Regions from separate parts of the Homo sapiens genome. Here region 2 is linked to region 1. Evidence: promoter capture Hi-C in 16 types of primary human blood cells and fetal thymus (Javierre and others, 2016). All regions are on one chromosome and are shown on one strand. The core of a region is centred on a gene start or on the middle of the fragment in contact, and the rest is flanking DNA. Distances in the headings are between cores, read along the strand shown.

Region 1 (4,796 bases), core at 940-3,439:
ATTTTTAGTAGAGACAGGGTTTTGCCACGTTGGCCAGGCTGGTCTTGAACTTCTGACCTCAAGTGATCCACCTGCCTCGGCCTCTCAAAGTGCTGGGATTACAGGCGTGAGCCACCGCACTGGGCCATTGTTTTTGTTTTTGAGACAGAGTCTCACTCTGTCGCCCCAGGCTGGAGTGCAGTGGCGTGATCTCGGCTCACTGCAACCTCCGCCTGTCGGGTTCAAGCTATTCTCCTGCCTCAGCCTCCCGAGTAGCTGGGACTACAGGCCAGGCGCAGACCACCACGCCCGGCTAATTTTTGTATTTTTGTAGAGACGAGGTTTTGCCATGTTGGCCAGGCTGGTATCGAACTTCTGGCCTCAAGCGACCCACCAACCTTGGCCTCCCAAACTGCTGGATTACAGGTGTGAGCCACCGTGCCCGGCCCATTCTTACATGTTTAAGGCATCATAGGAATTTTAACATTGGATCTACAAGTTCCGTTTTAGAGTTTTGATTGGTACAATTGGTAATGTATTCTTTTTTCTTTTTTTTTTTTTTTTGAGACTGAGTCTCACTCTGTCACCCAGGCTGCAGTGCAGTGACACTATCTTGGTTCACTGCAACCTCTGCTTCCCGGTTCAAGGGATTCTCCTGCCTCAGCCTCCCGAGTAGTTGGGATTACAGGCGCCCGCCACCACGCCCGGCTAATTTTTTGTATTTTTAGTAGAGACGGGGTTTCACCGTGTTGGCCAGGCTGGTCTCAAACTCCTGACCTCAGGTGATCCACCCGCCTCGGCCTCCCAAAGTGCTGGGATTACAGGCATGAGCCACCGCGCCCGGCCAGAAGTCATCTTTATTATGTAGAGGTTTCCCCCTTGTACGAGATGGTTGTGTGTGAGTATGGATGAGTTTACGAAAGCAACTGACAGACCTGTGAAATAATGATGCCAATACAGGAAGGTCCAAGGTAAATGAAAGCCCGGTGAAATTCCTGGAGGCGCAACTCAGGGTGGGGTCTTGGGATGTCAGGAAAGAGGAAGGGAAGGCTGTAGGTCTGGGTGTTTTGTGAGCTATTTGCACCTGAGGATATATGAGTGAGACCCTCCGCCTTGTGCGAGCCGGCTTGCATGCGTCTGGCATACAGAAGCGCTCAGTGAATGTTGAATAAGTGAACAAATGAGTGAATCAACTAATTTTGGGAAGCTTCTTGTATGCCAAACAACCTGCTAGCACTTTTCATACATTATCTTTAATCCTCAGAACAACCCTGCCAGACAGGTATTTTGACCCCCATTTAACAGGCCAGGAAAGCTGAGGCTGGGAGAGGGGAGGTCCCCTTCCCTATTCAAACCTGGATCTTTGTGATTCCAGAAGTCGTCATTCACCGAAGGGACCAGATTCATTCACCCGTCAAGAATTTATTAAGCACATATTGCGCAGCGCAATGAACATAGTACAACCGCTCTCGATGGCATGGAACAGGCGGAATACTCCCGGAAGACCAGCTGGGCGGCTGGACTGCGGACAGCGAAAGGGGGGGGTTTCTGGCCCGCACCTTCAGGGAATGTAGCTGCCTCTGCCTCATAGTTATGGCTTTGGCTGAGAGAGCACAGCCAGATCGAGGTTGGAGCGCGGTCTAGGGCTCAGATATTACAAATATTGGCCGAAAGAGGGCGCGGTTCCGCAGCTAAAAGCTTGGCCAGGAGACCCTCCGTGCGCCGACTGGCCATCGATGCGCAGGCGCAGAGGACCCAAGGAGCGGCTTAATATTACCTTGCAGAGGGATAATTTGAGAAGAGAGGGCGTGGCTCCGAAAGCGACGCAAACATAGAGGCGTGGTTCAACCAAATCAACCCTCGCCTATTTGTCGCTGCCCCTGAGGGCGTGGTCTGGGTGCTGCTTCTCGGAATGAGGGCGGGCCGAATCGCGTTTTTCCTCCGCGTCGGAGGCGTCGCTTAGGGTGGGCCCTCGAATCGCCGTTCAGCGATTGGCCGCCTCGCTAATGGGTCGTGGCCAGACGGGCCATCCATCCCCAGTGCGGTCACTTCCTGTGGAGTTTCCCCATCCCTGGGAGGAGGGAGGAGGGGGAAGAAGACGAGGGGGAGGAGGGCGGTCGTCCGGGGTTAGGTTGAGGGGGGGCGTCGGTCCGTTCTGGGCGGGGGATGACTCACAGCCCATCCCATCTCCCCGACGCCGCCCGCCCGCGCAGTGCTAGCTCCATGGCTTAGCGGAGGAGGCGGCGGTGGCGAGCTGGGGGGAGGGGGGACTCTTATTTTGTTAGGGGGACCGGGCCGAGGCCCGACCGGCCTGGCAGGGCTCGCCCGGGGCCGGGCGTCATGTCTCATGCGGCCGAACCAGCTCGGGATGGCGTAGAGGCCAGCGCGGAGGGCCCTCGAGCCGTGTTCGTGCTGTTGGAGGAGCGCAGGCCGGCCGACTCGGCTCAGCTGCTCAGGTGCGGGGCCGCCTGGGGCTGGGAGTGCCGACTGGGGCTCCCAGGGGCCTGATCTCGGGGGCAGTGGGGGCCCCGGACTGGGATTGGAGGCCCTCGGCCTAGCCTTGGAGGACGTCGGGGCGCCCGTCTTGGGGGGGCACCTAAGGAATCCGGCAGTGGCCTGCTTGGATTGTGGCTTTATTAAAGGAGTCGTGGGAGTGCATTAAGCGGGGTCTGGGTCAGGTTTGGGGAGCCCTTGACTGCGTCTAGAGGGGCCTATTCTGGAGTATCCAGAAACTGGTCTGAGATAGCTGAACTTGGTAGACAGGGTCTCTGATTAGAGGCTGAATTCGGGGATTTTCAGTCGGACATGAGGGGAATGAATTTGAGGGGACACTGTCAGGTGAGGCACTGGTTTTAAGGGAATCCTAGAATCTTTTTTCCCTCAGTGTGGGAGAAGGGGTCCTGAGGGACAGAAGTGCTGTCTTGGGAGCTTGGTGCCTCTCAGTGACTGGTTGCTGTGTTTGGGGATAACATGAATCTGGAGGGATTTGGAGGTATCTCAGATATGCTGCCTGGGACCAGCCTTGTGAGTGCGTGTGAATGAACAAGAGAAGCAACATTCAGCAAGACTTGACCAGAATAATCCTTTCCCCTCTGCCCGCCTACCCAGCTGGGGCAGATCCCAAGGATAGTGGAAAAGCCCTCTTCCCACACCTGTTAAGGGCCTGAATGGAAGATAGACAGCCAGGCAGAGGGCGATGATGTTACCTCTTAGCTCAGAGGCCTCAGACCTTGTTTGGGAACCCAGAGGAGGCTCTTGTTCATGCTGCTACTCGCTCTAGCCTCTCAGCCCTTCCCACTCCCTAGCCCCACACCCCTTTTCTTTTTATCTTCTTTTCGATCTCCGAGCTCCTGGGGGTAATCTTGAATCTGTCCATAGAGCTGGAACGAGTACAGATTGCACCATCCCTGCCTGGGTGGATCCCCTCTGGCCTCTTCTCATCCTTACTTTCATCAATGGGCTTTGGAGCCCCAGCCCTCCCTGCTCACCCCAGTGCCCATCTCTTCCAACTTCTGTGCAATGGGTGTGTGAGCCCTGGGTGGGGGGGGGTCTTTGCCTCCTTTGTGCCTGGGATTGTGCTGAGCTCAGTGGCTCGCCCGAGCTTCCTCTTCCCAACTTCCTGGGTGGTTTTAGGGCTCCATCTGAGGGTGAGGAGAGGAAGGAAGACAGATCCTTGGGGAGGGGAGAGGATTCTTGTCAAGTGAAGTCACCAGCAATCTCTCAGCATTCTAAATGTTTAGCTAAATTGAAGGATGCATATTCATCCACGTGTGTGTTAACTGTCCCTTGCTCTCTGGGGCTGAGCAGAGCCTTTCTGTATATCGATTCACCATCTTCTAATTCCTCTGTAACAACCTAGATCATCGCAGTAGTGGACATAGTTAAAGGGATGGGTGTATATGGCTTCTTATTTTGTGCGCCAGTGGGTGTTAGTGTTGGGGGTGTGTGTGTGTTTTGATCTATCCAAAAAAACAGGAGAAGGCTGGGCAGGCTCCTCCGGTAAGAAAAGAATGCTTGTATAAAGTGGATCAACCACCCAAATTCTCCCTCTTGTAAATCCAGTCTGTTGGAGCGAGGGGAGCCTTTGATATTTCTATTTTATATTTAGGCATGTGTTGGCATCCCATGAACTCTGGCTGGGGCTGGGAGAAACTCATTTGTGAAATGGTAGATCTTTACGTCAAGTGAATTATTTCCAGTTCTCTTTGTGATGCATTCAGTTTGTGTTACAAGGGACTGTTATGCTGAGGGATGCCCCTACTTGCTCTGTGTGTGTGTGTGTGTACACACATATACCTGGGCTCACATTCAGCTGTAAAGAAAATAGCAGGGGGTTGGCCGGGCGCAGTGGCTCACACCTGTAATCCCAGCACTTTGGGAGGCCGAGGCAAGCGGATCTTGAGGTCAGGAGATCGAGACCATCCTGGCTAATACGGTGAAACCCCGTCTCTACTAAAAATACAAAAATTAGCCGGACGTGGTGGCGTGTGCCTGTAATCCCAGCTACTCGGGAGGCTGAGGCGTGAGAATCACTTGAACCCAGGAGGCAGAGCTTGCAGTGAGCTGAGATCGCACCACTGTACTCCAGCCTGGTGACAGAGCGATACTCTGTCTCAAAAAAAAAAAAAAAGTAGGGGGTATGGGGGCTGGGAGAACTCTGAATAGGAAGTCAGGAATCCTTCTATAAAGTGAATTGTTATTCCTAAATTCTGTTTTCCTCAAACCCAGGTTGTTACAGTGTGGGGGTTGGGATGCAGGCGTTCTTATTATTCTGACTCCTAAGGGACTATGAGTAACACAGTGGGGAAGGGAAAGGG
Region 2 (4,897 bases), core at 490-2,989, 1.4 Mb after region 1:
CTTTGAATCAGTGAAAACCAGATGGTGGCTTGGCATTTCCACATAGGAATGAGCCAGGTGGAAATCATCCAGGATATAAGTAGATCTTGAAGTGATAAGGAAGGGTCATCATAATCATGTGGGGCCCATTTTGCCCTTTCTTGTTTCTTTTCTCTAGGCTCAGCAACAGCCTCACCAAGGACTCCATGAATATCAAAGCCCATATCCACATGTTGCTAGAGGTGAGAGCAGCTCACCCCACTACCAGACTCTGTGTTTAGGGTGGTGACCTGAAGAAGGAAGAGAGCGAAAGAAGGGAAGGACCATCTTTCCCTCTAAACTGGAGTCAAGGGAGGGAGGTCAGAGCAAGCCTGGGGGCGTAACCCAGACCCAGTCTTTGTTCAATCTCTTCTGTCCTCTTTTTCAGGGGCTTAGAGAACTACAAGGCCTGCAGAATTTCCCAGAGAAGCCTCACCATTGACTTCTTCCCCCCATCCTCAGACATTAAAGAGCCTGAATGCCTTTGAGTCACATGGCCCTTCTTTTTCCCCATAAACCCTGCTAGTTGCCACGGGGGCCTGTTCCTAGGGCACAAAGTTACTGAGAGACCCAGAGATCCAGTCTCTCTGTGGAACCTCCAAAATGCCCCAGCAGTCCTGCCTCCAGCCTGTTGCCTGGCAGTATTTGCCAGTTGACCTTATGCACTGCCCTCTCTTCTGTCATCTTGGCAACCTGGGCCCCCCACCTCACCCTTTCTTCCATTCCTTTTCCTAGACGCCACCCTTTGAATTGCCATAGAGAATGGGCCAATTCATGGTGGAGGTTTGTTCATTCCCACAACAATCAAAGGGCCCTAAGGTTTACGCTTTCACACACCCAATCATTCCCCAGGTACCCCAAATTACACCCAAACCCTAACTCAGCCCTACCTTGTCTTAGCCCCTGCTTGTAAGTGTTCCAGCTTCCAATGGGCACAGACCTGGATCCCGCTCTCCCTAGTCGGGCCCCTATTCTAGGTTGAGTCCAGCCACCGCCAATCAATGCAGAGCCAGGTTCCTCCCCTTTTTAACTCTGGCCGCAGTTCAACCCTGCCCTCTGAAAGCATTTCGTTTCTGCCACTCAATGCTCTTTCGTGTGCCTGACAGCCATCCTGCCCTCCTACCTCCGCTGTGTTCTAAATTCGTCTTTACCCAGCTCTATGGTCTTGTCTAACCGTAGAGCTGCCCTGCCCGCCTACGCGGAGCCCAGTCCGACCCACTCCCGCCGGCTGCTACGCCCATTTCTATACAAGCCCTGCTTCCGCTGAGCAGCATGGCGTGCGACACCGCCCCCTTGGTGTTTTGGCAGGGGTCTAGAAGTCCCTCGTCCGCCAATCAGAGAAAAACAGGGCCACCCACCCCCGTCCTTGGGGGCTGTCTTCCATCAATCCCATGTAAGCCAATCAGTGTGAGGCAGACCCCCGCCCCCCCGACACAGGCCCCGAGCCTTTTCAGTTGCTCACAGTCCGTCAGTCCTTGAGCCAATCGGCGTGGAGCACCGTGAAGGCCGAACGCGCCTCCTCGGGACTCCAGGGGCCGTGAGCGTTCCATCATTTCCCCTTACGCCAATCACGGCACAGCTCTGTAGGGAAGGGCCCGTCCCCCAACCCCTCGAGGCCTTGCGGCCGATTAATAGCGCTTTGGCCAATCAGCGAGCGGCGGGACATTGGGCTCCTCCTCCTCGGGCCCACGTGAGCTGTAGGGAAACGCAGGGGCGGCTTCTAGGTGCTGCCGCCGCCACCGCCACCACCACCTCCACCGCCGCCTCGGAACCCAGGCCTGGGGGGCGGTGGGGCCGCGTATGGAGCCCCCGCCCCCCGGAGCTGCCAACATTGCCAACGCCACCGCCACGCTACACACAGGTGAGCTCTGGGCCTGGAGGGTGGAGGGCCCAGTCCGTGACCCCACGTATCCTTCCCGCCCCCGCGCAGAGGATGTGGCTTGGCCGGTGGCCTGCTGGTGTTCGACTCCCCGCCGCCACCACCACGGCTGGTGGACCTGCGTGTGGCATTGCTCAAGCCCTTCGTCCCTTATAGTGGATCTGACCGTGGCCTAACCTCCCCCTCCCGTTGTATAATGGATCGGTCTGCGTGCTTATGTTTTTCCCCACGCCAACTTAGGGTGGACTCGTCCATAGGCTTTCCCCCTACCCCTACCCCCACCCGCCCCCCACCCACCCCCACTTATAGGGAGCTAGCCTGTGACAGTGTTCAGCCCCCTTAATAGTAGGTGTATCTGAGTGTTTGGATTTCTCCTAGCCTCAACTTTCAGGAGACCCGTCCGTGGCCTTATTTATTCCACCCTTCCTGTACATCGTAGCGAATCAATCCGTGGCGCCGCACTCCTCCGCATCCCTCTTTAACAGTGAGTCTACCTGAGTTTGTATTCCTGCCTCCTCCAGTCCCCCAATGCATCAGTCCATGGCTTTTTTCAAAACCACCCCCCCCCCCCACCACCACCACCACCATTTTATAGTGGATCAGTCTTCATGTTTGGATTCACGTCCCTTTAGCTATCAGTCCATTGCCCTGTCTCCTCTTTTTCGTAGACTGTCGCTCTAGCGCTTGGGGTTCTCTCCTTTTTAATAGTGGGTTAGTTTAGTGCTTTACATCTCCCTATTTTCAGTAGCTCAGTCCATAGCCTTTTCCCTCTCTGCTTTGAATCAGTCTGTGTGATGGCTTTTCTCTCCTCTCACTGTGGTGCAGGAGTCTGTAAGGTTTTCTGCTCCCCTTCCCCTCAGACGATGAGCCTCATCACCCCTCCCTTTGCAGTGGATCTGTTCATTGGCCTTCCTCCCCCACACCCCTGTATGCTTGCACAGTCCCCCGCATACCCTCCCGTGAGTCCAGTGCTTTGTAATTGGGGGAAGATCGGCCGTGTACTTTCAATTTCCTTCTCTTTTTTTTTCCCTTCCCAGAAGAGAACGTGCTGATCCTCTTTTCCTTGTGATGGAGCACTGTACGGCCTTCCCTGTCCTCCACCTCTTAATAGTGGGTCAGCCTGGTCACACTCGTAACCACAAAGACGTTCTGCCTCACTACAATAAGTGAATACATTAGCGCCAGTGATGATAGTAATGCCAATAGGAGCTAGCGTTTATTGAGCACCTGCCGTATATCAGGCAGAGTGTTTCATATGAATGAGTTCCTTTAATCCTCACCACAACCCCATGAGATAGGTAGTGAGGGAATTGGGCCATAGGGAGGTTAAATTCCTTACTCAAAGGTGGCCCAGGAAGTACTCAGGACACAGGATAATTTTTGAGGCTCCCCTCTTAGATCTCATCCCACCCCACGTGAGGCCTCAGTCCTTAAAAACCAAATTAGTTCTCACCTCCAAGCTTTTGTTCTTGCTGTTCCCTCTGCCTGCAGAGCAGTCTTCATTCCTCACCTTCTCTCAGCACCCACCCACCCCCCAATCCCAGCAGCTGTGTGACCTTAGATGAGTGATTTAACCACTTCCTCTCTGTGCCTTTTTCTTCATTTGTGAAATGGGGGATCAGAACTAGAATCCCTTCCAGTGTAAATAAATATTAACTGTGAATTAATGGTAAAACAAGTAACCTTTCTAGCATTACCGCCTATACCTTCCCACCCCCTTACTGTGCTCCAACCACACTGGTTCCACCACACAGCTCCTCAAACATAGCAGGCATGGGCCAGCCTCAGGGCCTTTGCATTGGCTGTTCTTTGTGCCTTGAACACCACCCCCAGATCTCTGCATGGTTCCTTTCAGCACTCTGTTCAAATACCAACCCCCAAAGGATGTTTACCACACTGTGGTGTGTGGAATGCAGTATAAAAAGATACATGTATGAAAGATGTTTCTAAGAATGCCAGTTTATATATGAGTAAGGGTTTTCCTCCTTTTCAAAAGGATGTGTTCACAAGACTGAGGTACGTAATATGCTCTGTAAAGGCATAGGTATAAAAGCTGTTTCTAAGAGTGCTAGTTGTATATGTGAATAAGGACTGTGTTGTTGCATTGAAAGAATGTGTTCACAAAACTGTGGTGTGTAGCTGGGCACAGGGGTGTGCACTTATAGTCCCAGCTACTCGGGAGGCTGAGGTGGGAGGATAGCTTGAGCCCAGGAGTTCCAGGCCAGCCTGGGCAATATAGCGAGATCCCTTTTTCTGAAAAAAAAAAACCCAAAAAACAACCACTGTGGTGTGTGTAATACACTCTCTTAAAGGCACAGGCGTAAAAGATGTTTCTAAGAGTGATTTGATTTTGTTGTACCTGGGTAGTGTTATTTCATTAAAGGTTGATTGTCACACCATGGTACTTAGAATATACTATACAAAGGCACATGTATAAAAAAGAAGTTCCTAACAATGCTACTTGTAAAAACAAAAAAAGTCAACCCCTCCCTGACCATCTGAAGCTGCACACCCAGCAGGGCTCAAGCCAGGTCCCTGATTTGTCCCGTTGCCCTTTATCACTGTCTGACACACTGTGTGGGTTACTTGTTTGTTGTCTGTCTCTCCTCATTAGAATGTGAGTCCCATGAGGACTCAGTTTTTGTCTGCTCATTCACCGCTATGTCTCCAGCAACTGAAAATGTACCAGGTAAACAGCAGATGCTCAATAAGAATTTATCCCATGAATAAATGGGAAAAAGATAATTTGAGACACCAGTGTAGGGGTCACATGAGGAAGAAGAAGGGATATGAGAGCTAATTAGTTGGGACTGTTCCTGCAACCAACCTTTACTGAGCCCCTTGTGAGTACCAGGCACTCTTCTAGGTGCTGGAATATGGCAAGGAACGAAACAGGGCGAAATATTTGTGCTTGTGGAGCTGACATTTATTAAAAGTTGGGGAGGCTGGGCACGGTGGCTAACACCAGTAATCCTAGCACTTTGGGAGGCTGAGGTGGGT

The links. Contacts are between HindIII fragments. The CHiCAGO score rates a contact against its expected background, and 5 or more counts as called.
Region 2: the fragment with the promoter of ELK1 here is called in contact with the fragment with the promoter of TFE3 in region 1 in 1 of 17 cell types (non-activated CD4 T cells); the score reaches 8.1 in non-activated CD4 T cells.

The regions. Positions count from the first base shown.
Region 1 is chrX:49,040,750-49,045,545 of GRCh38, reverse strand. It overlaps TFE3 (transcription factor binding to IGHM enhancer 3), which reads left to right and starts at 2,189. Exons shown (of 10, transcript NM_006521.6): 1 at 2,189-2,435. The coding sequence starts at 2,320. RefSeq lists a silencer at 2,219-2,458 and an enhancer at 2,000-2,863. The HindIII fragment of the contact is 3,845 bases long and covers 1,680-4,796 here.
Region 2 is chrX:47,647,405-47,652,301 of GRCh38, reverse strand. ELK1 (ETS transcription factor ELK1) reads left to right here and starts at 1,739. Exons shown (of 7, transcript NM_001114123.3): 1 at 1,739-1,879; 2 at 2,276-2,381. It overlaps UXT (ubiquitously expressed prefoldin like chaperone), which reads left to right. Exons shown (of 7, transcript NM_004182.4): 6 at 158-221; 7 at 407-506. The coding sequence ends at 460. RefSeq lists a silencer at 1,555-1,964 and a cis regulatory region at 1,296-2,276. The HindIII fragment of the contact is 5,079 bases long and covers 1-3,359 here.